3 separate regions of the Homo sapiens genome follow, and all the other regions are linked to region 2. Evidence: promoter capture Hi-C in 16 types of primary human blood cells and fetal thymus (Javierre and others, 2016). All regions are on one chromosome and are shown on one strand. The core of a region is centred on a gene start or on the middle of the fragment in contact, and the rest is flanking DNA. Distances in the headings are between cores, read along the strand shown.

Region 1 (3,495 bases), core at 704-3,203, 130 kb after region 2:
AAGAGGATGGCTTGAGCCCGAGTGGTCAAGGCTGCAGTGAGCTGAGATGGTGCCACTCCACTCCAGTCTGGGTGAGAGAAAGACCTGACACTGGGCCAGGCGTGGTGGCTCACGCCTGTAATCCCAGCACTTTGGGAGGTCAAGGCAGGCAGATCGCCTGAGGCTGGGAGTTCGAGACCAGCCTGACCAACATGGAGAAACCCCATCTCTACTAAAAATACAAAATTAGCCAGGCGTGGTGGCGCATGCCCGTAATCCCAGCTACTTGGGACACTGAGGCAGGAGAATCGCTTGAACCCGGGAGGCGGACGTTGCAGTGAGCTGAGATCGCGCCACAGCACTCCAGCCTGGGCGACAGAGCGAGACTCTATCTCAAAAAAAAAAAAAGGGCAAGAAGACTCAAAACAGTCCACGTGTTATTAGTGGAAGCAGAAGCATGAAGTTCCATTTTCTTCTTTGCATGTTCAGGAATGTCTACAGGGATGTAACAGTTATGGTCCCGTGGAACGGTCTGTGTAAGTTAACCCACTGAAGGAGACGGGCATCACGGCTGAGGCCCTGAGGGGTGGAACTGACCACTGGGCAGTGTGTGTCCAGCAGGGTGATGGTCACGGCTGATGGCAGCCACATCGCCCCACGGTGGCCTGGGGCCTGGCATGGAGGTTCTGCCACCTTCCTGAGAGACACACCCTGCCAGGGGCTTCCTGGGCCATCCCAGCTGTTGGTGTCACTTTGGGCTGGGGCCTCCCCGGCCTCCACATCTGGCAGCCCCCTTAGCACTGATGTGCCCCTAGATAGGTCCTTCCTCCTCTCCCCCTCACACCTGTCGGGCAGGTGTGTCATCCAACTATGTTGCAACACGCTTCCTATTTGGAGTGGTCCACATAGCTCTGTAGCCAAAGCTGCCTCCGCAGGGCAGATGCCCCAGGAGTGATCCTGGTCCCCACAAAAGGCAGAGGCCTGGGGGAAGGGGAGCAGGGCCCTACCTCATATGCCCTGGCTCCAATATCAGGTCAGTGTGACTGTCACCATGGCCATGGATGACCTGACGGCCTCTGCCCCCGGGACCCACCATTGGCTGGGCACCTGTGGTCAGGAGGACCCACCCACAGAGAGGTGGAGGGTGAACCACTCAGCCGCTGCGGGGCAGGGGCCCAAAGAAACGGGTGCTGTGTGTGGCCAGGCTCGGTGGCTCACACCTGTAATCCCAGCACTTTGGGAGGCTGAGGCGGGTGGATCACCTGAGGTCAAGAGTTCGAGACCAGCCTGGCCAACATGGTGAAACCCCGTCTCTACTAAAAATACAAAAATTAGGCCAGGCACAGTGGTTCACGCCTGTAATTTTAGCACTTTGGGAGGCCAAGGTGGGCGTATCACCTCAGGTCAGGAGCTCGAGACCAGCCTGGCCAACGTGGTGAAACCCCATCTCTACTAAAAATGCAAAAAATTAGCCAGGTATGGTGGCAGGCCCCTGTAATCTCGGCTACTGGGGAGGTTGGGGCAGGAGAATCACTTGAACCCAGGAGACAGAGGTTGCAGTGAGCCAAGATTGTGCCAAGGCACTCCAGCCTGGGCAACAGAGTGAGACTCCATCTCAAAAAAAAAAAAAAAAAAGAAAAAGAAATGAAACGGCTGCTGTGGCCACAGTGCTTGGTCCCCGCTGGCTCCGGGTCCATACTTGTCCCCTGGGGCAGGCCCCAGACCTGCCGTCACCCACGTCGCCTGCGCCCAGCCCCGTCCAGCAGACCTGACAGTCCCCACATCCCCGCTGGCCTCCAGGGGTCAAGGGTCAGGACGCCAAGGCCAACAGGAAAGCACTGGCAACAGGGCGGGGGCCTGGCCAGCCAGGCGGCCCAGAGGCGGTCCCCTCCATCCCAGGGTACTGTCCACACCTCCCAGTGTCCTGAGGGGAGTCCTCCTGCACTGCCTTTCTGAAGAGTTCTGACCCCAGGGTGTCCAGGGGCTGGGACTGGGGCCAGGTGGATACCAGGATGTGGTCAAGTAGGCCTGCCTGGAGGGTCCGGCCGCAGGGGCTGGGGAAGTAGGAGGGGAGGGCGGCCACCACTTCCCAACTCGGGAGCTGCTGACATCAGGGGACTGTTGGGCCTGGCCTGGCACCTGCCTCCCAGGAGACCTGAGTGCCCATCCTTGTCTTGGGCCAGCCTGTAGCCCTAGGCAAAGCAGGCACCTCCTTGTGCCAGTGTCCCCCTGGGCAAAGTGATCGTCCTGACCTGGCCTCACAGCCCCAGAGGTCCGTGTGTGACCCTCTCTGACAGGCCGGGTGGCGGGATGGAGCCCACGGCTGGCCATGGACCAGGTCTGGTGTCCCAGGCACATTGTGAGCACAGGGCAGGGCCTGCTGGCCTCCCCCAACCTCAGTGCTGTTTTCCCAAAAAGAGGTGGCATCCAAGTGCAGGGGCCATGCCCCGAGGGGCCTCGCGCTGACTTCGGGAAGTAGCAGGTGACGTCCCACCTCCCTGGGCAGCCTCAGGCCGCTTCCTGTCCTTGTTGGGGGGACTCCTGCCCCTGCCACACCGACCACAGTCCTTGTCCCTGCTGTTCCCTCACCTGAACGCCCTTCCCTGCCCTGACGGCCTCCATCCCACACGCCTCTCCGGGCGCTGCCGCCCCCCCGTTGGTGCTCATCTGTCCTTCTGCCCACTATCCCCAGCGGCCCCGATACCTGCACACCCCAGTGCCCAGCGGTTCCCCCTCGAGCTGGCAAGGGGACATTAAATGGGAGGTGAGGAAGTGCGGCCCCCAGCGGGCAGCTGCCTTTGCCCCGGCCCACCTGCGCCCCCGCCCACCTGTGCCCTCCGCCGCCTCCCTCTGCTTGGCTGTCCCAAGATGTCTCTCTCCACTGCCTAGGAACCCTGAGGCCGCGGCCAAGTTCTGAGCGTGTGACTGTGTGTGCTGGGCCCCAGGCCCCTTTGTCGCCGCGGCGTCTGTCGTGGCAAACAAAAGTGAACCGGATTAGCCACAGTGGATTAAAAGATTTACGTCTCAGAGTTTACCTAATAACCTAACAATCGTGTCAACGGGAGCTTTGAACCCCCAGGGCGCGCCTGCCAGGCCAACTGAGAGCTCAAGGCCTCTGTGGGCAGCAGGACGTGGTCGGGGGGAGGAGACGCAGCCACGGCTGTCCTCACACCCAGCTCGGCCCCTGCGGGCTCCTCTGGGCAGAACCTGGGGAAGGCACGGCCTCTAGCAGGAGGTGGAGGCCTTTGAAAGGGTGCAGGTGTTGGGACCAGGTACCCGGCCCAGGCCCCCAGCCGCGTCCACACACGTCGCACACGGCAGCAAGGACGCAAGCAGTGTGGAGGTGGCCGCGTCGGCGACGTATGGGCCCCGTGGTGCTGCGGTGCACGACCTCTGTGCTGTCACCCCACAGTGTCCGCTCCTGCACGTACACGCGTGCACGCGCACACACGTGCACACGCACACACACACAAGCACGCCCCGCTTTGATCTCTAAAGGAGAGTCCATTGACAAGC
Region 2 (3,661 bases), core at 451-2,950:
TTGTTATGAACAAATGCAGAGGCAGTATTTTGCCCAAAATTGAATGAAGAAGAAAGCTTTCAAACTCTATCGAAGACTGTTAAATAATCTAGATCTATTCTTCCTACGTCCCTTTCGTTCCCACCCTTAAAAAAGAGAGTTGCTACCTGGGAGTCACTTTTAACAAGACAATACCAAAAAAAGCAAAAAAGGAACTAGGTTAGTCAATACACACTGTGAGCTCCAACACATACTGTACCCATCTGCATTCTTCAAGACCTCAGCTGCAGAATTTTATGCCCGCTGTTGAAAAGTGTTAAAGGAAAAGTTTTCTTGCCCACACCTGCAGTAAGGAAGTCGGGGGAATGATACATAAAAGTAAAGGTAAAGTGGTATGTGACAAATTTTAAAGCTAGTCTGTGTATACAACACAGAGCTGTGCAACGCTAGAGGAGGAATATATTTTAGGATTTGCAAGCATCCAGGATTAATGTAGTGTCTTTTTATTGAAAATGTTTTCTTTCTAAACTACACTTTTAAAGTTACTTGTGAAAAAAAGCAAACACTTTTTTGTTATAACAGCTTAGAAATTGGTTGTGACTCACGGCTCGATGAACATGAGGCTTTCTGCAACTCCCTTGCAGATTGATGTAGGCAGGCAAAGATACACTGAACCTTTATAAATAAAATAGAGGGGCCACAATTGTTCAGTTTGTATGAAATAAAAATATGGGAAGCAATTCAAAAGCAACTCAATATACAAAGAAAGCTAAAAAGCACTTATTCACCTATGAAATAAAGTGCAAATAATCTGCACAGCCCTGAGAATGTGCCAGTGTGAACTTACAACTTCATTACTCAGCAGAAAAGAAAACACAAACCACAGCAGGTATATAGTTTTGCAAAGATGCAACCGCTTTCTCCTGTGACAACCATCATGATCTTGAGCTCCTCCCTACACAGTACAACCTACCTAACGACTGTCAAGCGCTGGCTACACAGAGGCTCTCCTGTGTGCTGGGGGGAAGGGGGCAGCTGGAAAAGTACTTGGCAGAAACCCACGTTAGAAAAGCTCAGTTTACGGTTCCCCTTGCAATGGTACAGAACCAGAGCGGGCCAGGTTTTCGAGGCCCATCCGGCTCCCTCGGGTGTAGCTTCTTCCCAAGGAGCCTCGGAAGAGTTCTGCCACCCGGCTGCCAGCGACCTGGAGCCCACGCTGATTCCAGCCCTCCGCCGACTCCACAGTTCGCGGAGGGGCACGGAGCCGCGGCGCCCGCCGGGGAGGAAGTAGCAGGACGGTACATAGGAAGGAGGCTGAAGCCCCATCCATGGCGCAGACTCCGAGAGAGGAGCCCGACCTGGACCCACGGCCGCCTCAGAGACGCACCGGCTTAGACAAAGGCCCGGCGCCTGCGGTCGGAGCGCGGGGGAGGAGGAGCGATGCCCCGCGCAGGCGCAGGCGCAGACGATCGCGGCCCCCGCCTCAGGCCGCCCGGCGGCCTCGCCTCACTCCCACCCCAGACCCTCGCCTGGTTGGCCGCTCTGACTCACCGTCCCGAGCCGTGCCCATGAGCTGGTCCAGCAGGGCCCGCATCTGCGCCTGGGCGGACATGGTAGCCGGCGGAGGCGACGGGGTCGGCCGCGACGACTTCTCTCAGGCAGGCGGTGGCAGCGGCGTCGACAAACGATGGTCGCGTCGGCCTCGAGCCCACTCGGCTCTTTCCCGCCGCGGGGGACGCCGGGAGGAAGTACGACGGCGCCGGCGCACGCCCTGCTGGGAAATGTAGTTTCTGGGGTGGGTGCTTAGGGAGGCTGAGGCTCTGAGTGGTCGCAAGTTGTCCAACGGCGGAACCAAAATCCCAACCCTGATTTTACTCTAGACCCCCAGGACCTCAAACGAGTCTCTACGGAGGGTAAACTACAATAAAATGAAATACAGTCAATCAAAAACAAGATGAATCCGTGCTTTTTCTAAGCTAGCCATGAAACCGTGAGCATATTATTTAGCTCCCCGACGCTCGTTTTTTTAAATCTGTGAAATGAGGGTTCTAAAGGTGCCCCTCATATGATTTTTGTGAAAGTTAAATAAAGCATGGAATTTTATTTATTTATTTATTTATTTATTTAGAGCGAGGGTCTTGCTCCGTCGCCCAGGCTGGAATGCAGTGGCGCGATTACCGCTCACTGCAGCCTCGACCTCCCCGGCTCCTTATCCTCCCGCCTCAGCCCGGCAAAGTATTGGGATTACTGGTGTGAACCACCACGTTTGGCCATCAGTCATGGCATTAATATTAGGTTCTATGATTACAACCTCGTGGTCGTCCTTTTGTGAGCTCATGGTCTACTGTCCCAGGGACTAAAGAAAAGGCATATGTAAGCAGTTATTTTATGTGATAATAGAATTATAGCATGCACTTATGTGTGCATAGTCTGGCATATACTTCTATTATATTAAACCTCTATTATTTATTTATTTATTTTTGAGACGGAGTTTCGCCCAGGCTAGAGTGCAATGGCGCGATCTTGGCTCTCCGCAACCTCCGCCTCCTGGGTTCAAGCGATTCTCCTGCCTCAACCTCCCAAAGTGCTGGGATTACAGGCATGAGCCACCACGCCCGGTCTTTATTTTTTATTTGTTTATTTTTTTTTTGAGACGGAGTCTTGCTCTGTCACCCAGGCTGGAATGCTGTGGCGCGATCTCGGCTCACTGTAAGCTCCGCCTCCCGGGTTGAAGCGATTCTCCTGCCTCAGTCTCCCCAGTAGCTGGAATTTCAGGCGCCCGCCACCCCCTCCGGCTAATTTTTGAATGTTAAGTAGAGACGGGGTTTCACCATGCTGGCCAGGCTGGTCTCAAAGTCTTGACCTCAAGTAGCCAGCCACCATGCCCAGCTGATTTTTGTATTTTCGGTAGACACGGTGTTGTACCGTATTGGCCAGGCTGGTCTTGAACTTCTGACCTTGTGATCTGCCTGCCTCGGCCTCCCAAAGTGCTGAGATTACAGGCGTGAGCCACCGCGCCCTGCCGTATTTTATTTATTTTTGAGACGGAGTCTCCCTCTGTCGCCCAGCCTGGAGTGCAGTGGCGCGATCTCGGCTTCCTGCATCCTCTGACTCCTGGGTTCAAGCGATTCTCTTGTCTCAGTCTCCCCAGTAGCTGGGATTACAGGCACCCGCCATCATTCCCGACTAACTTTTTTTTTGTACTTTTGCAGAGACGGGGTTCCGCCATGTTGGCCAGGCTGGTCTTAAACTCCTAACCTCAGGTGATCCGCCCACCTCAGCCTCCCAAAGTCCTCGGATTACAGCTGTGAGCCAGAACGCCAGGCCCCTGCTCTCTATTTAAAATAAATAAATAGGGTGTCCGTTGGGCTGCTCGGGTCGGATTCCGCGGTGCCAGCCCTTCCCCATGGCCGACCCTGAGAAGTTGCAGGTTTCTTCGCCGCCCCCGCCGCCTCCTTCTCCCTCCTCTTCAGACGCCTCTGCAGCATCTTACCCTGGCAGCCCAGTGAGTTTGGGCTGGCCAGTTCCGAGCAGGAGCAGCGGCCGAACGGTGGACCCGCTGGAGGAAGTGGGGCTGCAGATCGGAGACGCAGCCTTTTCATTAACCAAACTTCTTGAAGCCACATCTGCAGTATCAGCTCAAGTGGAAGAACTTGCCTTCAAATGTACAGAAAAGGCACGT
Region 3 (3,300 bases), core at 259-2,758, 200 kb after region 2:
AGGGTAGTTTTCCACCTACACTAATGGGCAGTGAAATATGTGACTGATACTTTCCTGTATGGTCAGCGTGGATGGTGGTTGCTGGTCCAGGTGTTTTGCTGCGTTTCCTTCTTGCCCCTGGGCTGGAGAGCACCTTGAGCTCCCTTGGTTGCTGTTGGCTACTGCGCTGTCTCTTCTCCCAAACATACTCTTGCTTCAGTACAGCAAAGAAGTTAGGAGAGTACCACATTTGCTCCTTGTTACCATAACCCAACTCTTGATAGAGAACTTCTGTGAGGCTCAGGATGTTTCCACTGGATCATACCACAGTTCTCTGAGATAGTAGGTAAGCAGGATTCATCCCCACTTTACAGGTAAGAAACTGGAAACCCAGAAAGGTCAGATAGCTCTCCCAAGGTCTCACAGGAGTAGAACTAGGTCTTTTGGCCCTTAGACCTTAGATGCCTCTTCTTAGATGTGGTGGCTCACAATATCCCTATTGTGATAATATCTTACTGACTTTCATACAATTCTTTTTATTTGAGAAACATCTTTTGTCATAACCTCCCTTAATGATCACAATGGGAAAAACTTTGTGTTGCTATTTGGGGCTGAGCTTTCTTGTCATCACAAAGTAGAAATGAGACAAAATTCTTCACTCTGAATTCCAAGAGCTCTTGATGAAATTCGAAGGTTGGGGGCAAGGGCTGGATGACTTGGGATTTGGTGAGGATGGGGAAGTGGAAGGGATCTCCTGTGGTATTACTCCTTGTCTGTTCTTCTAGACGGCTTAGGAAGAAGCAATGTTGGGTGTGATCTGAGTGCCTGGACTTGGGCCGGCTTCCTGGGATGGAGGAGAGCTCTTGATTTCTTAAAGCTAAGTTACTGTTTGGCAACAGATAATTTACAGGGTAAAGAAAGGTTGATTTTCATGTTATGTAACCCTGTAGCCATTGCTCAGTTTTAGCAGTCTTGGTTCATCTGTAAACTCACCACTCACTACCCCCAGATGATTTTTGAAGTGGGTTCCTGACATTATATCATTTCTTCCATAAATGCTTCAGTATATATTTCCAAAAGATACCGATTCTTTTAAAGACATTAATGATTTTTTTAAAAACGCTAGGGAACAGTTCAGATTAACTGGATAACAGCAATAAAGGTCATAAGTTTTTGTACTTTCTACCTTGAGATTTCAAAATATTGAGCACATGAGAGACTCTTAGTCCAGTCACATTACTGTCCTTGATGATAACAACTAGATTATCTTAATTTTTTTTTTTTTTTGAGATGGAGTCTCGCCTGCTCTGTCGCCCAGGCTGGAGTGCAATGGTGTGATCTCGGCTCACTGCAACCTCTGCCTCCCGGGTTCAAGCGATTCTCCTGCTTCAGCCTCCCGAGTAGCTGGGATTACCGGTGCCCGTCACCACACCTGGCTATTTTTTGTATTTTTAGTAGAGACGGTTTTGCCATGTTGGCCAGGCTGGTCTTGAACTCTTGACCTCAGGTGATCCACCCGCCTCGGCCTCCCAAAGTGCTGGGATTACAGGCATGAGCCACTGTGCCCGGCCAAGTATCTTAATTTTTATCAAATTTTCAGAGGTAGCATATTGAGTATCTTCTATGTAATCTGTTTATGAAGGTAGCATTTTAAATTATTTAAATGGATTATCTGAATTTTTAATAGAAGCAGCTCCTGTTTATAATACAGATGGCTTTTGTGTCCCTGTTTCTTTAGCAATGTCATGGTGTGTTTGGATCTAATTACGTCATCTGGTGATAGATCAGGTGTAGTGTAATATAACACAGTGTTGTGTTAGCAGAAATCAGCACATGAAAGGAGCAAGTGGAGCTTTCTGGTTATATTTTTTTGAAACAGGAATTTATAGTCAGATGTGTCCAGGAATTAGGTATGAAGTTGGAATAGGTGATTTTTAAGGCTTCAACCATCTCTGGAGATTGACATGACCCCTTCATACTGAGAGGACTGATGCTTTTGTATTTACTGCCACCTATCATGAAGCAGAGATTGTAAAATAAATTCTAAGAGTGTTGTGAGAAAGGATTACTTTAATTTTGTTTTGTTTTTAAAGATTATAACTGTAATTTACATGTTATTTTTACAGTCACTTAAGCAGTTGCGTTTTAATAGCCACTGATTCTTTTCAGAGAATGTCCTTCAGTAACCTTGGTAGGCATTGTCTGTCTTCAGTACTTGCAGAAATAGGCTGCCGAAGGAAGTGTCGATGCTCAGATCTCCCTACGTTTTTTTATTCCTGCACCGCTAATGGTGGCAGTAGGAAGTTCCTAGGGACATTTGACTGCACCTTTTTGTTCGTTTGTTTTGAGACAGGATCTCACTCTGTCACCCAGTCTGAAGTGCAGTGGCAAGATCTCAGCTCACTGCAACCTCCACCTCCTGGGCTCAAGCAGTCCTCTCATCTTAGCCTCCTGAGTAGCTGGGACTATAGGCAGGCATGACCATGCTCCGCTAATTTAAAAAAATTGGCTGGGTGCAGTGGCTCACGCCTGTAATCCCAGCATTTTGGGAGGCTGAGGCGGGCAGATCATGAGGTCAGGAGACGGTGAAACCCCGTCTCTACTAAAAATACAAACATTTTTAAAAATTATTTTTGTAGAGATGAAGTATAGTATAGTGATACTGCCCAGGCATATTATTGAACTCCCAGGCTCAAGCGACCGTCCTCGGGCCTCAGCCTCTCAAAGTTCTGGGATTGCAGGCATGAGCCGTAGCGCCCAGCCTGGCATCGCCTTTTATTTGCCCTGTATCATTTCCAGTCTCTTAGCCTTGAATTTGAGTGAAAGTGTGTGTGAATGAGAGTGAGCATGTGTGTGTGTGAGCAGTTACATATGTGAGCTGGTGTGTGTGTGTGTAATATGTGTGTGCGGTGAGATGTGTGGGAGCATGTGTCTGCAGGATCAGGGATGTGTGTATGTGGGAGTGGGATATTTGTGTGTAAGTGGCATATTATGTATGTGTGTGAGCAGGTGAGTGTATGTATTCTGGGTCTACATGCTGACTGAATTGCTGAAAGGCAAATGAAGCTTGGGTTGTATAAAACAGAAAATGACCAATAATCCCACTATCCTGAGAAAAATAACATTCCCATTATTTTACTACATTTCTTTTCAGACTTTTTTTTTTTTTTTGAAATAGAGTCTTGCTCTCTTGCCCATGCTGGAGTGCAGTGGCACAATCTCAGTTCACTGCAACCTCCACCACGTGGGTTCAAGCGATTGTCTTGCCTGAGTCTCCTGAGTAGCTTGGACTACAGGCGTGCAACGCCTGGCTAATTTTTA

The links. Contacts are between HindIII fragments. The CHiCAGO score rates a contact against its expected background, and 5 or more counts as called.
Region 1: a contact is called between a fragment that was not itself captured here and the fragment with the promoter of LUC7L in region 2, in 15 of 17 cell types (naive CD4 T cells, total CD8 T cells, naive CD8 T cells and 12 more). The highest score is 19.9, in naive CD4 T cells.
Region 3: a fragment that was not itself captured here is called in contact with the fragment with the promoter of LUC7L in region 2 in 2 of 17 cell types (naive CD4 T cells and neutrophils); the score reaches 5.4 in naive CD4 T cells.

What each region holds. Positions count from the first base shown.
Region 1 is chr16:357,394-360,888 of GRCh38, forward strand. No RefSeq gene overlaps it. Among named protein-coding and RNA genes, the nearest start is that of AXIN1, 6.4 kb to the left of the region's middle. RefSeq lists an enhancer at 3,481-3,495. The HindIII fragment of the contact is 6,075 bases long and covers 1-3,495 here.
Region 2 is chr16:227,749-231,409 of GRCh38, forward strand. LUC7L (LUC7 like) reads right to left here and starts at 1,701. Exons shown (of 10, transcript NM_201412.3): 1 at 1,531-1,701. The coding sequence starts at 1,591. It also overlaps the pseudogene C4orf46P1. RefSeq lists a silencer at 1,315-1,544 and an enhancer at 1,377-2,073. The HindIII fragment of the contact is 7,539 bases long and covers 55-3,661 here.
Region 3 is chr16:428,248-431,547 of GRCh38, forward strand. The region is part of intron 1 of RAB11FIP3 (RAB11 family interacting protein 3); the gene reads left to right. Among named protein-coding and RNA genes, the nearest start is that of RAB11FIP3, 4.2 kb to the left of the region's middle. The HindIII fragment of the contact is 3,069 bases long and covers 1-3,043 here.